3 separate regions of the Homo sapiens genome follow, and all the other regions are linked to region 2. The links are contacts of gene promoters, found by promoter capture Hi-C in human tissues and cell types (Jung and others, 2019). All regions are on one chromosome and are shown on one strand. The core of a region is centred on a gene start or on the middle of the fragment in contact, and the rest is flanking DNA. Distances in the headings are between cores, read along the strand shown.

Evidence for each region. Contacts are between HindIII fragments. The study calls those that stand out against the background at their distance.
Region 1: a contact is called between a fragment that was not itself captured here and the fragment with the promoter of SPRED2 in region 2, in 1 of the 25 tissues and cell types used here (pancreas).
Region 3: a contact is called between a fragment that was not itself captured here and the fragment with the promoter of SPRED2 in region 2, in 1 of the 25 tissues and cell types used here (pancreas).

Annotation. Positions count from the first base shown.
Region 1 is chr2:65,382,379-65,385,944 of GRCh38, reverse strand. The region is part of intron 1 of SPRED2 (sprouty related EVH1 domain containing 2); the gene reads left to right. Among named protein-coding and RNA genes, the nearest start is that of SPRED2, 48 kb to the left of the region's middle. RefSeq lists enhancers at 2,557-2,606, 2,817-2,946. The HindIII fragment of the contact is 5,320 bases long and covers 1-3,566 here.
Region 2 is chr2:65,430,878-65,434,130 of GRCh38, reverse strand. SPRED2 (sprouty related EVH1 domain containing 2) reads left to right here and starts at 1,532. Exons shown (of 6, transcript NM_181784.3): 1 at 1,532-2,169. The coding sequence starts at 2,144. RefSeq lists silencers at 1,630-1,829, 2,600-2,649, 2,680-3,189. The HindIII fragment of the contact is 4,754 bases long and covers 1-3,253 here.
Region 3 is chr2:65,473,134-65,476,642 of GRCh38, reverse strand. No RefSeq gene overlaps it. Among named protein-coding and RNA genes, the nearest start is that of SPRED2, 42 kb to the right of the region's middle. The HindIII fragment of the contact is 3,905 bases long and covers 263-3,509 here.

The DNA.
Region 1 (3,566 bases), core at 134-2,633, 48 kb after region 2:
GCATGATCAGTTAACAATTGCTGGAAAAATCAACTTTACCTGAACATTTAGGAAGCTATTTGGGATGTCCAGTGTTTTTCTTCCTCTTGAAAAACACTAACGCAGGTCTGCATTTATTAGGGGAGTGGGGATCATCATCTGTCTCTTCTGCCGCTTTGCTCTAAAGGAACTCAAGAGCCCATAAGCATTTTCCCTGAAAAGGTCATCATTTCCAAAGAAATGAGAGCTCATTTAAAGTTTCTAGGTATGAAAATCCTAGGTTCTTGCCCTTCTCCTTCCACTTCTTGGTGGCAGTGGGTAGGGAATCAAACATCAGATGACCTTCTTCCTCTCTGGTTTCTCCCCACCGCTGTATCAGACCAGGAAGGTGAAAGAGGGTCATGCTGACTCTCCTAACTCCCATCCCTCTGCCACGCCTCCCCTCCACTGCAGCACTGGCATGGTTACCTGTGAAGCAACTGCCAAAGACAACATGGGCAGCCTTTGTGTCTGGGTAGCCCAGTTCACAATGGCGGTTAATGGAAGTTCCTGTTCAGACGCCCTCCAACTCCCCAGAGGGCGTGGGCATCTCCTCTTATGTAAAGGGGAAATCTTAGGAAATTTTTAATTTTTCCTTTAATCAGTCAGCAAGGTCATAAGAGGCTTTGTAAGTATTCATTAGAAGTGGAAAGCAGGCCGGGCGTGGTGGCTCACACCTGCAATGACAGCATTTTGGGAGGCCAAGGCAGGCGGATCACCTGAGGTCAGGAGTTTGAGACCAGCCTGGCAAACATGGTGAAACCCCATCTCTACTAAAAATACAAAAATTAGCCAGGTGTGGTGGTGCGCCTGTAGTCCCAGCTACTCAGGGAGGCTGAGACAGGAGAATTGCTTGAACCTGGGAGGCAGAGGTTGCAGTGAGCCGAGATGGCGCCACTGCACTCCAGCCTGGGTGACAGAGCAAGAGTCCGTCTCAAAAAAAAAAAAAAAGAAGAAGTGGAAAGCAAAATTTCTAGTGAACATACCATAGAAATTTATAGCAGATCTACTGTGTGTCAAGTTTTGTTCTGAACAGGTGGAGAGGAGGGCACAGAAATGAACAGGCAATGAACAAGGAGCCTGGAACTCTTGGTGAATCGAGGTGTGCATGAGAGACAGGCAAATGAATAAGCATACTGTAAATCAAGGCCAGAGAGTGCCTCTGAATGGGGACCTGACAGGGTGGAAACCGATCTTCTTGTCTTGAAGTCTTCCTTGAGGGAAAGGATGAGTTTCACTGGAGTGAGGAAGAGGTAAGGAGGGCTTTTCTCCGTGGGGGTAGCATCTGCCTTCTGGGGTCGGTCTAAGGGAGGTGTGGGGAAGGGGCTGGCCTCACGGGCCTGCACCCTATGCTACCACACCGGCTTGCTCTCAGAAGGGCCCCACACTTGGTTTAATGCTCTGCTGTTGCTGCCTTGAAATTCTTACTAAGTTTTGAACTAATTATTATTTAGTTAATAAATAACAAATTATTTTCATTTTGTACCAGGCCCTGCAAATCATGCAGCTGGTCCTGCCTATGGAGATGGGACTGTAAAAGTAGATTTGGCTGGATTGTGAAGAGCTTTGCCCGTCAAGCTTGGGAACATCTGACTTTATTCCATAAGCAGTAGGGAGCCATGGAAAGTATGCTGACAGGGTTGGGAGAAAGGGGCACTGGAGGCTGTGAGACCAGGGAGGCCAGCAGTCCACCGAGGGAGGCTGATAACACCACGCTGGGATAGACACCGAGAGCTGCAGTTCCCACACCTGGTGGAGATAGGCCGGCTCTGGGCACTGGGAAGGAGGCCGAGAGCGGCCGTTGCAGGTGGCTGAGGCTTCTAGCTGAGCAGATCCTGCACATCAAGAATGCAGGAGAAAGAAGTCCCTCAGCCAGTGGCAGCGAGGCAGATGTTTTGCAGGAGTGGGGCAAGGCTCTTTCCAGAAAGACCCGGAAATCTCTGGTGGGACAGCTTGTAGAAACATGCACTGCAGCTGCTCAGCTACAGCAAATGACCTGCAGATCAAGGTTTTTGTCAGTATCGAGAGCTTCACTAGAACAAATATTCATCCAAAAATAAACTTCCCGTTCTTCCTGTTTTTATAACTTGCCTATTTCCTCTGAGTTTGAGGCTGGGCTCCAGTTCCATGGGTTATTAATCTTCAGAGGATCAAGACCTCTATAGAAGTATTTCCTGTACATGTTTATCTACCCAGCCCTAAATTATATTCTCCAAATGATAAGAGAACTTTTCCATACTCGTGTGTCAGACTTCTCCTTAGGGAGATTTCGATTAGGCACCACAGCAAGTAGGGCCAAACCAGAAAGCCTTATCTCAGAACATAGGGAACCCACGTAACGGTGGGGAGCGGCCTTTGGTGGGTTTTGATGGGCACTCAGCCTCCCTCCTCCATGTGAAAGGTAGCTTCTTTCTGGCCAGAGTTCTAAGGACATAAAGTAATAGCTGAAGAGGGCCCTATCTGAGGATATTTTAAATTCCCTGTTGAATACCACAGGGGATATTAGCTAAAGAAATTCTGCTCCTTTGAAGAGCTCAAAATACCCCTCATTGGACCATCACTTGTTCTTACAGCATCTTCCAACTAGAAACAGGGCCCCGGCCTCACAGACAAGGGAACTAGAGTGAACTTGGTGCTCATGACAGCACAGAGCAAGAGGGAAAAGCTCTGTTGAAGCTTGGGCCGAGTTCAGACCTGATAGACAAGTATGGTTAAGCAGGCGTGGGCGCTTTACTCATCGGCCCGGTCCACCTGCCTCTGGAGCCCTTCCTTGCTCTCCTACTTTTTGTGCTTACAGACGCCAAGCTAGCATGCCGGTGGTATTTTTAAAACGTAAGCCTTCTTGTATGACTCTTGCAGAGAGGCGGTGGTGACCGGGCTGCGTGGGTGGCGGCTTGTGCCGCAGCGGAACTTGGAGAAAGGCCAGCTGCCTTTTACTGAGGCCTTCCGAGGTGGGGCTGGGATGCCACATTTTTCAAACACACCACCGCAAGGCAGCACCCCTCCCCCTTAGAGATCCAGGTGACTCCACTGAGAATTACTGCGCCACACCGTGGCTTCTAGACCCACACTGTCAAGTATGTAGTCCTTGCCACCTGGGCTGTTGAACCTGGAAATGAGGCTTGTACGAACTGACTAAAAGTGCAAAATACACATTGGATTTTGAAGCCTTATTACAAAAAGAAAAAAAAGAATGTGAAGTATCTCATTAATGATTATTTTATTTTGGTTACTGTGGAAACAAATATTTTAGATATCTTGGTTTGTGTCAACTATGTTATAATTAATGACACCTGCTTTTTAATTACTCTTTAAATGTGACTACTAGAAAATTTTAAACTGTGTATGTGGCTCAGTTTCCATTTCTATGGGACAGTACCGCTAGTCTGTGCTGTGAGTTCAGCTGCCAGTTGTGGCTTTGAAACCAGTACATTCCCAGAGGCTCCTCTCCTTAGTGGTCTGGCTGAGGGGGGGTTACCCAGCCCTAACCCTAGACTGCCTAGGGTAGTGTGTGGGACAGCCTGCTTCCAGGCAAAAAGTTAATAATT
Region 2 (3,253 bases), core at 283-2,782:
TCAAACGCCTGACCTCAGGTGATCCGCCCACCTCAGCCTCCCAAAGTGCTGGGATTACAGGCATGAGCCACTGCGCCCAGCCTGAGGCAAATATTTAATCTCTTAACCTGTTCAGTGGTTGCTATTTAGTTAACATCGTATCTGGATTGTCCCATGGACATTCAAGAGGATGGAAAAGTCTACTGTGTTTGGAGAGCAGCAAGGGATAGGGACTATGTCTCTTGTTTCTTTTTCTTTCTTTCTTTCTTCTTCTTTTTTTTTTTTTTTGAGATGGAGTTTTGCTCTTGTTGCCCAGGCTGGGGTGCAGTGGCACAATCTTGGCTCACCGCCACCTTCACCTCCTGGGGTCAAGCGATTCTCCTGCCTCAGCTCCCGAGTAGCTGGGATTACAGGCACGCGCCACCACGCCCGGCTAATTCTGTATTTTTAGTACAGACGATGTTTCACCATGTTGGTCAGGCTGGTCTCGAACTCCCGACCTCAGGTGATCTGCCCGCCTCGGCCTTCCAAAGTGCTGGGATTACAGGCGTGTGCCACCGCGCCCGGCCGGGGCTGCTTCTTAACGCGAGAAATTCCATAATTTCTACGGAAATGCAAACGTTTCTGGGCTGTGCTGGGTTGACCTTTTTCTTTGCATGAGTAATGATTCTTAAAAACATCCGTTCCTTGGCCGGGTGCGGTGGCCCATGCCTATAATCCCAGCACTTTGGGATGCCGAGGCAGGCGGATCACGAGGTCAAGAAATCGAGACCATCCTGGCCAACATGATGAAACCCCCTCCCTACTAAAAATACAAAAATTAGCTGGGCGTGGTGGCGCGCGCCTGTAGTCGCAGCTACTCGGGAGGCTGAGGCAGGAGAATCACTTGAACCCAGGAGGTGGAGGTTGCAGTGAGCCTAGATCGCGCCACTGCACTCCAGCCTGAGGACAGAGCGAGACTCCATCTCAAAACAAAACAAAACAAAAATCCATTCCTCTATTGAGACAAAAAAGAAAAAAAATCACAAGATTCACGTGAAACGGAAAAGCCTCTGCCTTTCAGAACCTTGGCAAAGTCGAACCCCCTCCCCTCTCTGGTTGGGTTGGGCTGGAGAAGCCAGCCCCTGGCACCTGCGCCGCCCCTACCTTCCCACCCCGCGGTGGGGGTAGTTGTGCCTCTGAGCCTGAGCACCTCTTCAGCTGTTTTACTCCCTCCCCTCCCTTGAGTTTCCCATCTCTGCCCCCGCCCAACCCCCCGATTTTTAATCTTGGTGTTTGGAAGGAGGGAGGGGGCAAAAACGGGAGCCAGATGTGTACGAGTCCTCCGCTCCCGCCTCCTCCCTCCTCTCGGGCTTCCTAAAACCCGGAGCCCTAATCAAGGAGGATTCGGAGCCAGACGGTCGCGGCGCAAGCAAACAACTCGGCTCCGCGGCTCCCCCGGGAGTGGAAGCCAGGAGGGAGGGGGAGAGGAAGCGGGGCGTGCTCAGTAGGCGGGACAAAGTTTTTTTTTTTTTCTTCTCCCTTTTTTTCGGTCGCAAGTAGGAAGCTTTTTGCACTCCACCACCTCTGGCCGCTGGGAAGACGTCATCGCTTCCGCCCTACTTCCTCCTCCTGTTGGCGGCGGTGAGAATCCAATATGGAGTAAATCGGTGGAGTCGAGAGATGGGGCTCGGACGGGGCGCCCTGCACCGCCTCCCAGGCGCACCTCCCCCGGCCGCCGACCGCTCCCCGGAACCGTGATTGGCCCGGCCCCCCGGGGGCGACCCCGGACTGAGCCCCCCCACCCGCGGCCGGCGCTCTCCTCCTCCTCGCAGCAGTCCCTGCCGCTCCGAGGCGCGCTTGTTTTTCTCCTGCTCTCCCCCACCGCCGTCCCCTTCCCAAATCTCGCCCCCTCTGCCCGCTCCCGAGCCCCCGGAGCCTCCGCCCGCCTCTCCCCACGGCGCTGCGGCGTTCACTCCCCGCGCAGCCTGCCTTTGCACCCCTTCCCCCAAACCCTATCCCGCGCCCTGCTTCCCCTTCTGCTGCGGCGCCCTCTTCATCTCTAGCCGCCCCCCCTCCCCAAATCAGGCGATCTCCGGAGATGTGAAGAAGGGGGGCGAGCGGACAGGAAGATGAAGGGAGCAAAGCTGCCCGCCGCGGGACAGGCGTCTAGGTGAACAAGAAAATGACCGAAGAAACACACCCAGACGAGTAAGTTTGGTCGCGGGGTGGGACGAGGGTGCCCCTCAGGGGCAGCGTGGGGGCCGGGGCTGAGGATGCGGGCGGGGACGCTTATTGGGTGAACTTGGCGTGGGGTGCAGCGACTCGCTGACCTTTCGGCGTTGGGACGCGAGGCTTCCCTGCTTGTTGAAGTGAGGAGAGGGCAAAAACTGCTGCGGGCTGGCGGGCGCACGCCTAGGGTCGGCGGGCTGGTGGCAGCTCCGGGGGCCAAGGGCGTGCGGGTGACCTCCCGGCGGTCTCCGCTCCCTCTCGGAGGACTTACAGCTCCCCCGCCCCCGAAATCCTCGGCGGCTAGAGCGGAAGACCTGACACCCCCACTCCGGCTTCCCGGGGCTGGTGGGTTTTTGCACAGTGACTTTGTGACTCCCGCCGCCCCGCGAGCCCTGCAGTCCGCTCCGGAGCCCACTGGGGCCTAGGCTCCGCCATTTCGTTTTCTTGAATCGCTCTCATTTGCATACCACATTTTCATTCATAAAAAACACGGCGGAGCGAGAGGAGGACAGGCGCGGGCTGCGCGGGGGTCTGGTGCGCCAGGGTCCCCGCGCGGGCCGGCGTGCTGGAGCCGCCCGAGGGGCCCCGCGGCGCGTGAGTGCCTGTGCACGCGCTTGTGGCCGGCACACGCGTCCTGCGGGGTCGGGCGGCTCGGGGCGGACCGAGGCGTGTGCGGCGGGGGCGTGCGGGGCATCGCGCTGGGGGCGCGCGTGTGTGTGTGTGTATGTGAGTGTCCTCGCGGGTGCGCGTGCACGGGCTTGTGCCTGGCCCGCGGGCCCGAGGGGAACAATGCTCGGGGCGCTCCGCCGGAGGGATCCTGGGCCGCCCCGCGCGGGACCCGTGACTGTCGCCAGCCCGGGGCGGAGGTGCAGCTGCCTCCTGCCTCGCGGTCCAGGGGTCCAGTTTGGCATTTTCCCTCCCTGGTCTGAGGCGTTTTCAGTCTCGGGTGCGACGGGGGCGGGGCCGCGGGGCCCGACGCCTCAAGTCTTATGCCTGGGGTTTGAGCGGTCACCGCGCGGCGGCCGCCGCTGCTGCTCAGTGGCTGTGCCCGCCACCAGCCACT
Region 3 (3,509 bases), core at 966-3,465, 42 kb before region 2:
CACTTTGGGAGGCCGAGGCAGGCGGATCATGAGGTCAGGAGCTTGAGACCATCCTGGCTAACACGGTGAAACCCCGTCTCTACTAAAAACACATAAAAAAATTAGCTGGGCTTGGTGGCGGGCGCCTATAGTCCCAGCTACTCGGGAGGCTGAGGCAGGAGAATGGCGTGAACCCAGGAGGCGGAGCTTGCAGTGAGCCGAGATGGCGCCACTGCACTCCAGCCTGGGCGACAGAGCCAGACTCTGTCTCAAAAAAAAAAAAAAAAAAAAAAAAAAAGAGCTATAACACTCACCGTGAAGGTCCGTGGCTTCATTCTTGAAGTCAGCAAGACCACAAACCCAACGGCAGGAACAAACTCCAGACACAGCACCACTGCACTCCAACCTGGTGACAGAGCGAGATGCCATACTGTTATTCCTCCCACCTCATAGATAGGGAAACTATTCTCCACTTCATTGCTGCCTTTCCTTTAATGACACCCAGGGATGTACTACAATTGGCCTGTGGCTTCTCCCACCTCGGACATTATGGATGTGTGCCTTCCCTTCACGAAGACTGTATGAGAATCTTTATTATTATCATTTTCAAACTATAAAGTATATAATAAACATTATGGTAAGCATAATTCCCTCCAAGCTTCACCCTTCTGCAAGGCTGAGAAGCCCCTTCTACTCCTCTGAGAATCCCTGAAACATGAAGTTGCTTTGGGTGTTGCATTATTTCAGGTAAAGACCCAGTTTAATGTGGTGATAAGCAGCTTGAACTCAAAGCATGGGCTCAGGAGTTACAAATTCCCACTCAGCACCTCCCCCTTGTGTGATTTTCAGCTACTCATATATCCTCTTAGCCTCAGTTACTTACCTGTAAAACGGGGGTAATAATAGGACTTATCCATAGGGATGTTGGGAAGATTAAATGAGCTAATGCATATATAATGCCTGTCACAGAGTAAGTGATCAAAAAATGTCAGCTACTTTTCTTATTAAAGAGACTTTGGATGGAGGTTGATTTAAGCAAGACCTTTTAGGTAACAATGGCTAAAACCATACTTCCAAGGATGGGAAAATTATTGCCATTGATTTCAAATTATCTTCAGATGTCAGACCAGGCATATTGACATTTGGCTGAAAATGTGATATCTAAAACAATGTCTTAGATTCTGAGCATGGGAGGGGGTATGGGGTAAAGCCTACTGACTCATGTAACCCAACTGAGTGCCTTTATGAACCTGACATCCATTTACAGGGAAGAGTGAATCCAAGAGATGCTATAGGGTGATCCCTCTGAGACCACAGCAGAACTGAGCCCTGTGGGCTGCAGATGTAATGAGATCACTGTTGCCCTGCCCCAGGGGACAGCCCTACTCACTCTCAACCCCCACTGAGCTCACAGTACCAGCTCTCACCCTGCTACCACCTCCCCTCCAGCTCACATGTTCTCATCTCTTTGTTGCACTGAGAACTCATAGAGACTGGGCCATGAGGCCTCATTCATGTCTGTACATCCACACCTGGAACACACAGTACATGTTCTGTAAACCCTTACAGAACTCATTCACGGGAAGCTATTAAATGCTCTCCTTTCTTCTCCAGGGTTGATCTATGTAATCAGTGCTAGTACTATGGCCTATGTGTTTGGGTCAAAACGAACGCCGGCCAGCCTTTAAATTCTTGCTTTCCCAGATTTGATCTGACAAAGATGCTTTGTTTGACCAAACTTTAGTCAGGCTCCTGAATCTTCTCCTACATTTATCTGTACACTTCCTTGTAAAGACAAGTTTAGCAAGAACCCGGCTAAATTGGTTTAGCCAGAATCCCCCACCCTCCATATCTGATCCCTCTCCATATCTGATTGGGTTCCTCATCCTCCACCATCCCCAGGTGATGTGTGATCACCCTGCCCTGTCTTCAGCAAAAATCCTGTTAAGCTAGAGTCTCCCTTATCCCACCCGCCAACCCCCACCCTGCTCCTGGCTATAAATTCCCACTTGCCCACACTGTATTCAGAAGTGAATCCAGGTCTACACTGTGATCTCTTTTCCCCTAGTGAGATAGTCATAAACAGAAACCTGTTTTTACCACTTCAATTACTGTCTAGCTCTGGTTTTACCTTGTCAGTACATATGGCTGCCCTTCATTTAAGAGTCACCTCAAAAAGACCACTCAGTCACAGTCTTTAAATTCTTTATATTTTAATTGTGTAAGTACCTTGCCTCTCTGGTATCTTGTTCCCAAACATTTCTTCAGCTGGACCACTTAAGCCAATGAAAGAGCGAATCTATTTAACATTGATTCCATTAGCTTTGGTTTCCTGAACTCCTTTCCAAATTGGGGAGATGATGGGAAAAGGAGCACCTCTCCATAGCCTTCTCGGACCTGCCACAGGAGAGGCAGGGGAGCTGTGGTTGTTCTCCCACACTCTCATTTGAGTGTGACCTTGTCTCCCCACCCCAATCCTACACATGAAGATAGCAGAGAAGTAACATACCTGTATAAACTTAATAAGAGCGTCTCTCAATGGACCTAGTGGAGCCTGTATCCCCTACCCATAAATAGATTAGTCTTGCATCCTGGCAAGAACCCTGGATTTATAATCATGGGCCCTGCCTCTTGTTGTGACATTTCAGATAATCACTTAGCCTCCTTAGACCTCAATTCTTCATTTTTAAAAGCAGGATTAGCCTAAAATATTTTAATGTTCTCTGTAACACTAAAGACTGGAAAGCACTATACAAACATGAAGAATGACTGGTCTCCCTGGAAAATGCCTTCCTTTCCCCACAGCACAAGCTGGTAGAAAGTTTCTGAGAGCAAAAGTCCCTAGGGAAACAGAAAAGGCCAGCAGATCACAGATCACATTCAAAACAGAAGAGGCTGCAAACCTCCCCAGTCATGTCTTATTTGTGCAGAGTATCTCCTGAAACCTTGGTGGAGACATGAGAATCTCCTGAAGTTACCTTCTCAATGGAAGAATCTAAGCATCAATTGTCCTTAAGTCATATCAATGAAAATCTTAGGCCTGAACTGGAAGCTCCTAATATAGTAACCGATGTAGTAACTGGCCCTTTTAGAGGGCAGAATATGTCAAGAATTGACTACAGAACTAATAGTGCAACCTCTGCTCTATCGTCCAAAGCTATTTTGGGTCTTAAGCCATAAGTGCAATTAAAAAAAATCAATGCTTTCAACAACTGAAAGTCAATTGAGTTACTTAAGCTTTCCCCCAACATATATGGCCATTGACTCTCCAGGAGTCTGACTACAGCATTTGGGCCTTGTGCAGACACCAAACTACTTAGCTAGCAGATAAAGATATAGGGAGCTCTAATCATCCAATCAAGAAACTATTAAAGTATGGGTCATAAATCTTCACTTCTGTCACAGTTCACCAAGGACAAAGTCTGATAACCTTTCGTCCTCACTGAGAGGCAGCTTTATGGAGCTGGAATGACTGAGGGTCCTGTTTTGCCTTGTCTTAGCTGTAGCCTAAGGTGTGGTGCATAAGCATC